4 separate regions of the Homo sapiens genome follow, and regions 1, 3 and 4 are each linked to region 2. Evidence: promoter capture Hi-C in human tissues and cell types (Jung and others, 2019). All regions are on one chromosome and are shown on one strand. The core of a region is centred on a gene start or on the middle of the fragment in contact, and the rest is flanking DNA. Distances in the headings are between cores, read along the strand shown. Region 1 overlaps FAM13C (family with sequence similarity 13 member C). Region 2 holds the start of FAM13C (family with sequence similarity 13 member C). Region 3 has its middle 52 kb from the start of FAM13C. Region 4 overlaps FAM13C (family with sequence similarity 13 member C).

Region 1 (2,700 bases), core at 72-2,571, 34 kb after region 2:
GAGTGACAGAGCAAGATTCTGTCTCAAAAAAAAAAAAAAAAAAAAAAAAAAAAAAAAAAACCAGAAAGAAAGAAAAAAAGAAAAAAAAATGGAATCAGAGGACATCCTACTTCATGGATATATGTGGATTTTGAGCCTATGCCTGCGTTTTCCCATGATTTATTTTATTTCTTTGTTGAAATAATGAGTAAGATGGCCAGAAATGTTTTAAAAATAGATCTGAAGAAACTGCTCTCTTGGTTCCCTATTTCTTAAAGGGCCAGAAAATTTTAAATAATAGACACACATTTTTGAAAGGAAATTTAAATCAACTCGTACAGGACGCTCTTTACCCTAGTTACGACATGAATGTAATAGTCCAATAGCTTCTTTTATCCGGGTATAAACATCTTTAAAGTTCCCCAATTATTCAGAAGGACATCAAGTCACTTTCACAGATATGTGAAGGTTAAGAAAAAAGGGACTCTTGGGTGATGTAGGATAGGGTAGATTTACAACACTTTCTCTTGTTCACCTTAAGAACTGAAAATATAAGATTTTCCAAATTATAGTGCTATCAGATATATTAATCATGTCTTAATTAGAGATTTTGGGAAATACTCTCATAAATGCAAGGCATTAACAATAGAGTGATTAAGCTACAGAACCATTTAATTTAAAATTTAATCCAGTAGTTGAAGAAAATAAAGTTTTATCAATTTGGGGAGAGTGGACACAGAGAAAACCTCAAGTATGAGAAGATGAACATTTGATGTTTTGATTGACCACATCCTGGAGGGAAGATATACAGGATGTGTACATCCTTGAGGCCCAAAGATACATTTCTGACTTTCAGACAGAGAAGATGGGCAAGATCTGGGATTAGAATGGTGGGATTAGAATGGAATATTGTTTTGTTTTGTTTTGTTTTGTTTTTCTTGATGGCCATGGATTTGTACAAATAAAGGAACTTGGAAGGGCCTGAAGCAATGGCCATGCCATTTGATCAAAACTAGATGATCTCAAGTGCTACAAGAGTCAGCTGAACTCACTAAAATTGCAATGAGAACAAAATATCATATTTCACCATTCTGGTTTAGGGGCAGCTAATTTTTCCTTAACTAAGTTTGAGTTTTGAGCCTCTTGAGTTAATAGCTTTCCTTTTGTTATCATGCACACTCTCCTAGCCTCTGTACCTGGATGAGATAAATAGCCTAAATTATGTTTGCTTCATGGACAGCTTTCTTATGAACTATCTCAGAATGTAGTAAATTTGATGGTCCCTGCATTTGGCAGAGAACCAACAAATCACCCCACTGAGGTGGACTTGGGACATACTAGGGGTGAGGTGGAGGGTAGATGAAGATGGCTGGGAACAGGAAAAGATGTGGGATGCCTTTTCTTCCAGGTGCCCATCTGGGCTACGCTTGGCCAGGTGGCAGAAAGACCAAGCATGGAGCAGAGGATTTTGGCTTCTTCCCTCAGTCCCCTTGGTCAGTTTGGATCTGACCATTTGACAGACACATTAACACAGAAGTAAAAAGTTAGAATCTGCTCTCTTACCCTTCAGTCTGTGTCAAACAGTAGATTTTAAAGTTCTTTGGGGGCAAGAATGTCTTATTCACTTCTCTATAACCCTCTCAACTATAAAAGTGCTTGGTATATAATAGTGGGGTTTTTTTAGGTAAAAATATATCTTATTTATTTCAGAATACATACCCTACTTTAATGTTCTACAATTTTTGAGCCGAATGTTACAGCCGATTCTAAACAGAGTGATGAAGCTTAAATGGGCAAAGGTAATCAAATGTGTTATTTATTTCCTTTCTTGATGTTGTCACCTTTTTTGGTGGGGGGGTGGGGACAAAATGTTAACTCTCAATCTTTCACAAATATGTTATTTACTCTAAGGACTTTCTTTGGCAGCCCTAGTTAACCTTCACCAGGTGGTGGAGTCCAACTGGAGCAGAGAAATGGGCTTACCAAGGAAGTAAGCCTTGGCTTCTCATGCATCTGGCTAAATCTCTTATAGAGGCAAATACATTTGATTGAGTACTACTATTCTTGTTTTGTACTCTTTCCTTTATAACTTTATGAATAAATGACAGCTGGCAGCACAAGACCTTTGAAAGCTACTGTTCTATTAATTCAATAAGATGATATCCCCATTTCTTCTGTCTTCTTTCTTTAAGAGAAAACATGAAATTATTTTTTAAAGCTGGTCAACTAAGGCTTGGGTTTTCCTCCCCTATTCCCTGTAAGGTACTTGGGTCGGGACGTCTTGTGTTGTTACATGCCAGGCTGTCCTGGGCATGCTCTGTCGTTCCTTAATGCCAATGCACACATCTGTTCAAAATTTCACCTTTCTCATTTTTGAACGTTTCTTAAAATTGATGGATGCATTTAATGTGGCATTATTTTTTTCCTAAAAGACTTATGTAATCAAACCAATGATGGTTTATAATTGATGATATCTTAGAATACAGGAAAGGTAATGTGTTTTAGTTATCTATTGTTGCATAACAAATAACCACAAAACTTAAAATTGCAATAATCATATATTATCTTTCATGGTTTCTGAGGGTCAGGAACTCACCTAGGGCAGACTAGAGAGGTCTGTGTCTGCTTCAGGCTGTCTGGGGTATCAGCTAGAAGACTTAAAGCCTAGAAATTAGAAGCATCTGAAGGCTCATTGATTCCCATGTGAGCTTTGCTGGGGCT
Region 2 (2,737 bases), core at 116-2,615:
TATCTTCCTATATTGCAATAAAATCATAAACGCTGCGATTATCTTTTTCTCTGAACAGGCTGAATAAAATGTGCAAGTGACCACAGAACTTCACTGTGGCTGGAATCTAATCAATAGTGAAGAGCAAAGCCAAACACAACTGGAGAATTAACTGGCCCCTGGGTGGACTTGTTAACCGATGTCTCAGTTTGACATTGAAAGGTCATGCTCTTCCCCATTATTTCCAAGTTTTGGTAAAGTTTTTAATTGCCCAATTAGAAAAATTATGAGTTTTTTGTTGTTATGTTAACTCATTAACTTACATAGGTTTGGACTAAAAACCACTATCCTAGCTGCTTCTGGGAGTAGAAAGATTAAAAAGGGGGATGGGAATCTTATTTCAAAATTCAAATAAAATAATTCAAATTCAAATAAGAATCTTTAATAGATGCTACATCCCATATCCAGGTCAACATGGCAGGAGAAATGAACAATACAAAGAGGGCAGAACAAATATCCCCAAGGGAAAGAAGCCAGTGGGGGGACTGACAGTCTTTCCTTTCCCTAACAAGGCTGCCTTTATTCAAAGGGATAGCGTTTGCGGATTCCGTCTCTCCATCCTTTGTAAAGGTGCTAGCTAGGGAGCTGAGCTCAAGCGGGCTGCTCTAGGCATAGCAAGCCCCACCCCTTGCACGGTGTCCTAATCACCAGCTAACCCCTGGAATAAATTCTCCACTCGCCCTGCGTGGGTTCATTCACAGCTCTGTAGTCCGGGGCTGGGCGCTTCCTCTCTGGGACTGAAATAAGAGCGCTCTAGACAGATCAGGTGTGATGCAGCCAGCCCTGCTTTAGAGCCTATTCTTTTTCCTAGGCAACAAAAAACACACACACAAAATAAAACACCAAACAGCAGCAATATCCCCCTCCCCCTTCTTGTTCTCTCCTGACTTTTTCTGAACGATGGATGAATCTCTGCGAGCCTCCATCCCTGGGGGTGGGGTGGGAGTGTGGGGGGTTGGGGTGAGCTCTGTAAAATTGGTAGGAGACATGTGGAAGAAAGCAAGTCTCCCGGGTATTTCAGCACTTCGGCAGAAACACTGGGGCATTCTCATTGCCAGCCTCGGGGGGTGGCTGGCACAAAGAGCCCAAGATTAAACGCGGCGCCTGGGCTGGCGAGGTCGGGGTCGTGTGGTAACTCTCCAGGTGCTCCTCGCTGGATCCCGGGGTCCCAGCCCCGCCGCCGCGCCCCGCCCAGCTCTGTCCCCGCAGCCTCGCGGGCTGCCGGGCTTTGTGGTTCGCCCGTGCCGCTGGGCCCCTGCTGGGGGTGTCGTTACGAGCATGTGCAGACAGCAGCCCAAGGTAGAGCGAGCGTGCCGGGCGAGCCCGGAGACTTGCCTTGCAATGCCATGTTTGTGTATGTGCTCTAACTCCCGGAGAGCAATCAGGGAGACGGCTCCCCGGCCAGACTTGGCTGATGTTTTCTTGTTTCTGTTTCAGCCTTCAGGATAATTCCTTCAGCAGCACCACTGTAACAGAGTAAGTGATTCTTACCATTAAAATTAGACTTGCATGCCTTTCTCTGGAAGCAACTATCGTGAAGGTATCCTCCACCGTTCCCAGCCGCTGTTCGTTTTAGATGCATTGTCTCCCGGAATCTGGGGCTGTGAAGACCGTGAGACGTGCTGACTGGTGGGGCCCAGAAATCTTTACAGGTTGAAACCAGCATTTTAGCAGCTGCGGGAGAGAAATTAAAACCAGCTGATTGCTTGCAGGAGCTCAGTGCTCCAAGATATGTGTTCTTGGAGCTCAGATTTTTAAAAATCCATTTGATGTGTTAGGAAGCTTTGTTGTATTTTGCCAACATTGGTGTCAGTTTTCATGGAGTGCACACTATATACATTTACAGCAATAGAAGATAGATGTGAAATGAGCTGAATTCCAGCATGTGGTAAACAGGCTAAACTTATCTTGGCCCTCTCTTGTCTACAGATTTTTAAGGCATATCAGAGTAAACTTTTTGTGCATGCCCTTTGTCATGTTTGTCTTCTGACTACAGAGATGTGACTATGGGACGAATGAGTCACCTAGTCCTATGGTTAAAGCTGTTGATTAGGGCAACTAACACCCTTCAAACATGGAATGAAGGAGTGTGAATGAAGGAGCGTACCAGCAAGCACAGTATTTTTTTAAAGATATTTATATGCTATAGTTTTAATTTTTGACATCCCTTCCTTAATGTTTTCCTAATATTATACTATATTTGTTAAAAATTAACAGGTAGTGTATTTTGCTAATACTGTATGTAATTTATATATACATATATATATATGAATATGTACTTCATCTAGCATTCTTTCTCTAGGCTAATTCATGATGTTTACTTCTGGGACCTTTGTAGAAGCCACTCTAAACATCTTTTCAGGAAAAAGGCATGTGTAAAGTTGTATCCTCAACTACATTTAAAAAATGTTATGAGTTTGATGTAGAAGGCTTAACTAACTGGGGAGCTGTTTGCTAAAATTCCCTAAAAAGCAAATAAATGTTTTGCTTTTGGCTTCCAAGTCCTGCCACTATCACAATGACTTGGTGAGGGAGGGATAAGGTTTACAGTGCTTCCTAGGCCCTCTTGTTTTCCACATTCTTTTGTTTCTCTCTTTTGCTGTGCTGCTCCTTTAGTGTCCAGTTTTGAGCAGACTTAAGTGGAGTCACTTAAAAAAAAAAACAGGATTGACTTTAGAAGAAGCAATGTAAAATACTC
Region 3 (2,700 bases), core at 133-2,632, 52 kb before region 2:
TTTACATACCACAGTTACAGTGTTATAATATTCTGTGTTTTTCTGTGTACTTACTATTGCCACTGAGTTTTGTACCTTCAGATTATTTCTTATTGTTCATTAATATCCTTTTCATTCTAATTGAAGTACTCCCTTTAGCATTTTTTGTAGGACATATCTGGGGTTGATGAAATTCATCAGCTTTTGTTTGTTAGGGAAAGTCTTTATTCCTCCTTTATATTTGAAAGACATTTTTGTCAGATATACTATTCTAGTGTAAAAGTTTTTTTTCCTGCAGCCCTTTAAACATAGCATGCAAACTTCTCTTGGCCTGTAAGGGTTCCACTGAAGAGTCTGCTGCCAGATGTATGTGAATGGTGCTCCATTGTATGTGATTTGTTTCTTTCCTCTTGCTGCCTTCAGGATCCTTTGTTTATCCTTGATCTTTGGGGGTTTGATTATTAAACACCTTGAGGTAGTCTTCTGTGGGTTAAATCTGCTTGGTGTTCTATAACCTTCTTGTACTTGGATATTGACATTTTTGTCTAGATTTGGGATATTCTCTATTATTATCCCTTTGAATAAACTTTCTGCCCCCATCTCTTACTCTACCTTTTCTTTAAGGCCAAGAAGGCTTAGATTTGCCCCTTTGAAGCTATTTTCTAGATCCTGTAGGTGTGCTTCATTGTTTTTTATTCTTTTTCCTTTTGTCTCCTCTGTGTATTTTCAAATAGCCCGTCTTTATGCTCACTAGTGCTTTCTTCTGCTTAATCAATCTTGCTGTTAAAAGGCTCTGATGCATTCTTTAATATACCGGTTGCATTTTGCAACTCCAGAATTTCTGCTTGAATCTCTTTAATTATTTGAATCTCTGTGTTAAATTAATCTGATAGAATTTTGAATTTATTCTCTGTGTTATCTTCAATTTCTTTGAGTTTTCTCAAAATAGCTATTTTGAATTCTATATCTGAAAGGTCACATAGCTCTGTTTCTCCAGGCTTTGTCCCTGGTGCCCTATTTAGTTCATTTGGTAAGGTCATGTTTTTCCTGGATTGTCTTGATACTTGCAGATGTTCATCCGTATCTGGGCATTGAAGAGTTATGTATTTATTATAGTCTTCACATTCTGGGCTTGTTTGTACCTGTCTTTCTTGGGAAGGCTTTCCAGGTATTTGAAAGGACTTGGGCATTGTGCTGTAAGGTGTATCTGCTTTAGGGGGGCACACAAAGCCCACTAACACTAGTTCTTGCAGACTCATAGTGGTGTTACCTTCATGGCCTTAGACAAGATCCAGAATAATTATCTGGATTACCAGGCAGAGACTCTTGTTCTCTTTCCTTGAGCAAAAGACCTGAATAGACATTCCTCAAAAGGAAATATGTGAGTGGCTAACAGGTTTCTGAAAATAATGCTCAGCATCACTAACCATCAGGGAAATGCAAATAAAAACCACAATGAAATATCATTTCACCTCAATTAGAATGGCTACTATCAAAAAGACAAAAAGTAATGAATGCTGACATAGATGTGGAGCAAGGAAAACTCTTATACACTACTGGTGAGAATGAAAATTACTACAGTCATTATAAAAAACAGAATGGAAGTTCCTCAAAAAATTAAAAATAGAACTACTGGTGGAGGTTCCAAGATGGCCAAATAGGAAGAGCTCCAGTCTGCAGCTCCCAGCCTGAGTGACACAGAAGATGGGTGATTTCTGCATTTCCAACTGAGGTATCTGCATTTCCAACTGAGGTACTGGGTTCATCTCACTGGGGCTTGTCTGACAGTGGGCACAGCTCATGGAGCAGGGTGGGGCATTGCCTCACCCAGGAAGCACAAAGCGTCGGGGAATTCCCTTTCCTAGCAAAGGGAAGCCGTGACAGACAGTACCTGGAAAATCGGGACACTCCCACCCTAATACTGCACTTTTCCAACGGCCTTAGCAAATGGCACACAGGAGATTATATTCTGTGCCTGGCTTGGAGGGTCCCACACCCATGGAGCCTCGCTCACTGCTAGCACAGCAGTCTGAGATTGAACTGCAAGGCAGTAGCGAGGCTGAGGGAGGGGCATCTGCCATTGCTGAGGCTTGAGTAGGTAAACAAAGCCACCAGGAAGCTCGAACTGGGTAGAGCCCATGGCAGCTCAAGGAGGCCTACATGCCTCTGCAGACTCCACCTCTGGGGGCAGGGCATAGCAGAACAAAAGGCAGCAGAAACTTCTGCAGACTTAAACGTCCCTGTCTGACAGCTTTGAAGAGAGTAGTGGTTCTCCCAGCATGGAGTTTGAAATCTGAGAGTGGACAGACTGCCTCCTCAAGTGGGTCCCTGACCCCTGAGTAGCCTAACTGGGAGACACCTTCCAGTAGGGGCTGACTGACACCTCATACAGCTGGGTGCCCCTCTGAGATGAAGCTTCCAGAGGAAGGATCAGACAGCAACATTTGCTGTTCTGCAGCCTCTGCTGGTGATACCCAGGCAAACAGGGTCTGGAGTGGACCTCCAGCAAACTCCAACAGACCAGCAGCTGAGGGTCCTGATTGTTAGAAGGAAAACTAATAAACAGAAATGACATCCACATCAAAACCCCATCTGTACATCACCATCATCAAAGACCAGAGGTAGATAAAACCACAAAGATGGGGAGAAACCAGAGCAGAGAAGCTGAAAATTCTAAATATCAGAGTGCCTATTCCCCTCCGAAGGAATGCAGCTCCTCGC
Region 4 (2,700 bases), core at 200-2,699, 53 kb after region 2:
GACAGCTGGGCTGCCCTGTATTTGAAGTTTTTCATGGTGTTTTGAGGGGCACAGCCTTTCTCTCTTTGGGAATGTGTTCCCTGGGGGACCAGGCCAGAAACACCATGTCACTCCTATACTCAAAGAAGTTCCTCCCTTGCACGTTTTAGCCACTGGTGTCCTCCCAGGCTGTTGCACTTGGACCTTTAGGATAGCGTTCCCCAATTAGGAATCCCCTAGAGTGCTTCTTAACTATATGTCATCATCCTACTTTTCTGGAAATTCTGATTAAGTAGGTTTGGGTTGTGGCCCAGGAATCTCTGTTTTAATAATACTGGCTGATTCTAATCTTCAGAGAAGTACAAGGTGGGAGGTGGTGGTTGGGGAAGTTGGCTTCTGGGAGGGTATACCATTGGGGATCAGTGTTCTGTTTCTAGCTGAAGCATCCTTGGGAGTTCATTGGCCTGGACAAGTGGATACATGGGTTGGGAAGTCAGTTTCTGAACATCCATGGACTTCGAGTTTTGTTTTCTTTCAGTAGTCTCTCGGGGAATAATTTTGAACACTGTGGCTTGGTTTTTTTTTAGTCTTTGAAGTTGGCTGCTTAATATTTGACCTCAGTCCTTTAGCAGACATTTGGTAAGAACCAATAAGAGAATGTCTTCAATGTGGCTTCGACTCTCTAGAGAAAGGAACTTTCTATTTACTGGTATTAAGGGCTGTTATTGTTTCTAATAATATTACTGGAATTTATTGGCATCTTGTCTGTGTCTGCATATAGAGCTATTGTTTGTATATAAAACATGTTTTGCTCAGAGGGTTGTCCTCTTGGGATATACCTTTTGTTTTCAAAAGAGTTTCAGGAAACACCAGTCATACAGCCAGCCAGCAGTCATCCGGGTATACATTAGTGTATCCCAAGTATTGCCTTCTCATAGAGAGGCTCAATTTTTTATGCAGTGGAATATCCTGAATTCTGAAGATGTGATGGGAGTCAGCACTGCTCAGTTCTAAGGCTCTGATTCTATGTGAAGTATTCTGAAAAGTGTGTTGGATGCTCTCTTTTTACTCTTTCTGCCCAGGTTTTCTAGGTCATGGGTTCAAAAGCTACTAATTAATCTTTCATAGATCTCTTCAGGGAAGAAATGCATTTGTTATGGGAATGAGAGTCATTCCATCCTCTAGGCTCTGCTAGCATGCTATAGGTGGAAGAGGGAGCATCAGTTATCATTACTTTACACACTCAGAAATATATAAGAATTGGCAGCTGCCCATAACCCTAGGATGAATACGTTATTTACAAACATATGAGTGCCTACTGTGTGTCATATGCCAGACTTGGCCCTAGAGATAAAATGCTAAGCAAGGCTGCTATGGTCCTTGCTCCACAGTGCTCACCATCGTGAGAAAGAAACAATCAAATAATTACACAAATACATGATTAAGAACTGAGACCTGCTGCATAGCAGAAAGTAGAAGATCAGAATACAGTGAGAACATATATAAGAAAGGGAGACCTGACTGGGAGCTATCTAGCATCTAAAGTATGAATGAGTTACTTAGGAGAGAAAGTGGAGAGGGAACAGCATTACAGGCACATGTGAAGGCCTGCGCTGGAAAGGAGCATGGTGCATCCACAAAACGGAAAGAATGCCAGTGTAGCTGGAGTTCAGAGAGGGAGAATGATGCAAGCTAAGGTTGAGGAGTGGGCACATACTAAATCCTTCAGGGTGTCATACAGTACTCTCGGAATTTTGAGTTTTATTTTAAGTATAGTGTGCAGAAGGGTAGTGAAAGATCTTGTGTGAACGGTGGCCTGAGGAGGGTAGAGGGGAAGTAGGGAGACCAGGGAGAAACTACTGTCATTCAGGTAGTTCAGATGAGAGGTGCTGGTGGCTTGGCCCCAGATGGCAGTGGTAGAGATAGAGGGGAGGGGACAGACACAAACATGATTTGGGATAAGAAATTGAGAGGCTTGTTAATAACTTGGTTATTGGGCTTAAGGGAAAGAAAAGCGTTAGATAGCTGTCCGTTGTCTTCCATGAGCCATTGGCAAGATGGGGAAGCTTTTCACTGAAATAGGAAACACTTTCCTCTGCTAATTTAATTATAGATAGTTCAAACATTGGTGTAAATATACAACTGTGAGCTAAAATGTGGCGTTTTCACAAATTATCACATCCTGCAGTTTGACACTGTCCTTAGGCCAAGAAAAATATCTTAATGCTTAGTTGGGTTTATTGTTTTGAACTCCAGTACACCTCCTGCGAGGAGGCCACTAGAAGATGACCCTACAGGCTGACTCAGCACGAGCTTTAGGGTTCCAGCAAAGTGGGAACATCAAACATTTTTAGAAAAGTTGTATTTCAGTGGGCTATCCACAAGTTTGTAGTCATAGGCTATCCACAAGTTTGCAGTTTGAATCCAGGGAAAAGCTCTTTTCATATCAGCACAAAATTAAGTTTTGCATTTCTCTGTTGAGAAGTATTTTTTACTTTGAATTATACAGTGGTGGCAGCAGTGGCAATGGTGGTGCTGGTGGTGGTGATGGTGATGCTGGTTGGTGGTGCTGGTGGTGGTGATGGTGGTTGGTGGTGCTGGTGGTGGTGGTGGGGGTGATGATGGGGGTGATGCTGGTGGGTGGTGGCAGTGGTGGTGGCAATGGTAGTGGCAGTGGTGGTAGTGATGGTGGCAATGGTGATGGTGATGGTGATGATGGTG

The links. The method cuts DNA at HindIII sites, captures the fragments that hold promoters and counts their contacts. A contact is called where the count stands out against the background at its distance.
Region 1: a fragment that was not itself captured here is called in contact with the fragment with the promoter of FAM13C in region 2 in 3 of the 25 tissues and cell types used here (bladder, hippocampus and pancreas).
Region 3: a contact is called between a fragment that was not itself captured here and the fragment with the promoter of FAM13C in region 2, in 2 of the 25 tissues and cell types used here (bladder and heart right ventricle).
Region 4: a contact is called between a fragment that was not itself captured here and the fragment with the promoter of FAM13C in region 2, in 2 of the 25 tissues and cell types used here (adrenal gland and dorsolateral prefrontal cortex).

Annotation. Positions count from the first base shown.
Region 1 is chr10:59,326,703-59,329,402 of GRCh38, reverse strand. All of the region lies in intron 3 of FAM13C (family with sequence similarity 13 member C), which reads left to right. The region is part of intron 1 of LOC102724778 (a long non-coding RNA gene); the gene reads right to left. Among named protein-coding and RNA genes, the nearest start is that of FAM13C, 34 kb to the left of the region's middle. The HindIII fragment of the contact is 4,252 bases long and covers 1-2,700 here.
Region 2 is chr10:59,361,177-59,363,913 of GRCh38, reverse strand. FAM13C (family with sequence similarity 13 member C) reads left to right here and starts at 1,365. Exons shown (of 14, transcript NM_198215.4): 1 at 1,365-1,515. The coding sequence starts at 1,454. LOC124902428 (a long non-coding RNA gene) reads right to left here and starts at 2,015. Exons shown (of 2, transcript XR_007062148.1): 1 at 1,531-2,015; 2 at 400-846. The HindIII fragment of the contact is 7,624 bases long and covers 1-2,542 here.
Region 3 is chr10:59,413,377-59,416,076 of GRCh38, reverse strand. No RefSeq gene overlaps it. Among named protein-coding and RNA genes, the nearest start is that of FAM13C, 52 kb to the right of the region's middle. The HindIII fragment of the contact is 6,099 bases long and covers 1-2,700 here.
Region 4 is chr10:59,308,433-59,311,132 of GRCh38, reverse strand. The region is part of intron 4 of FAM13C (family with sequence similarity 13 member C); the gene reads left to right. Among named protein-coding and RNA genes, the nearest start is that of FAM13C, 53 kb to the left of the region's middle. The HindIII fragment of the contact is 4,882 bases long and covers 1-2,700 here.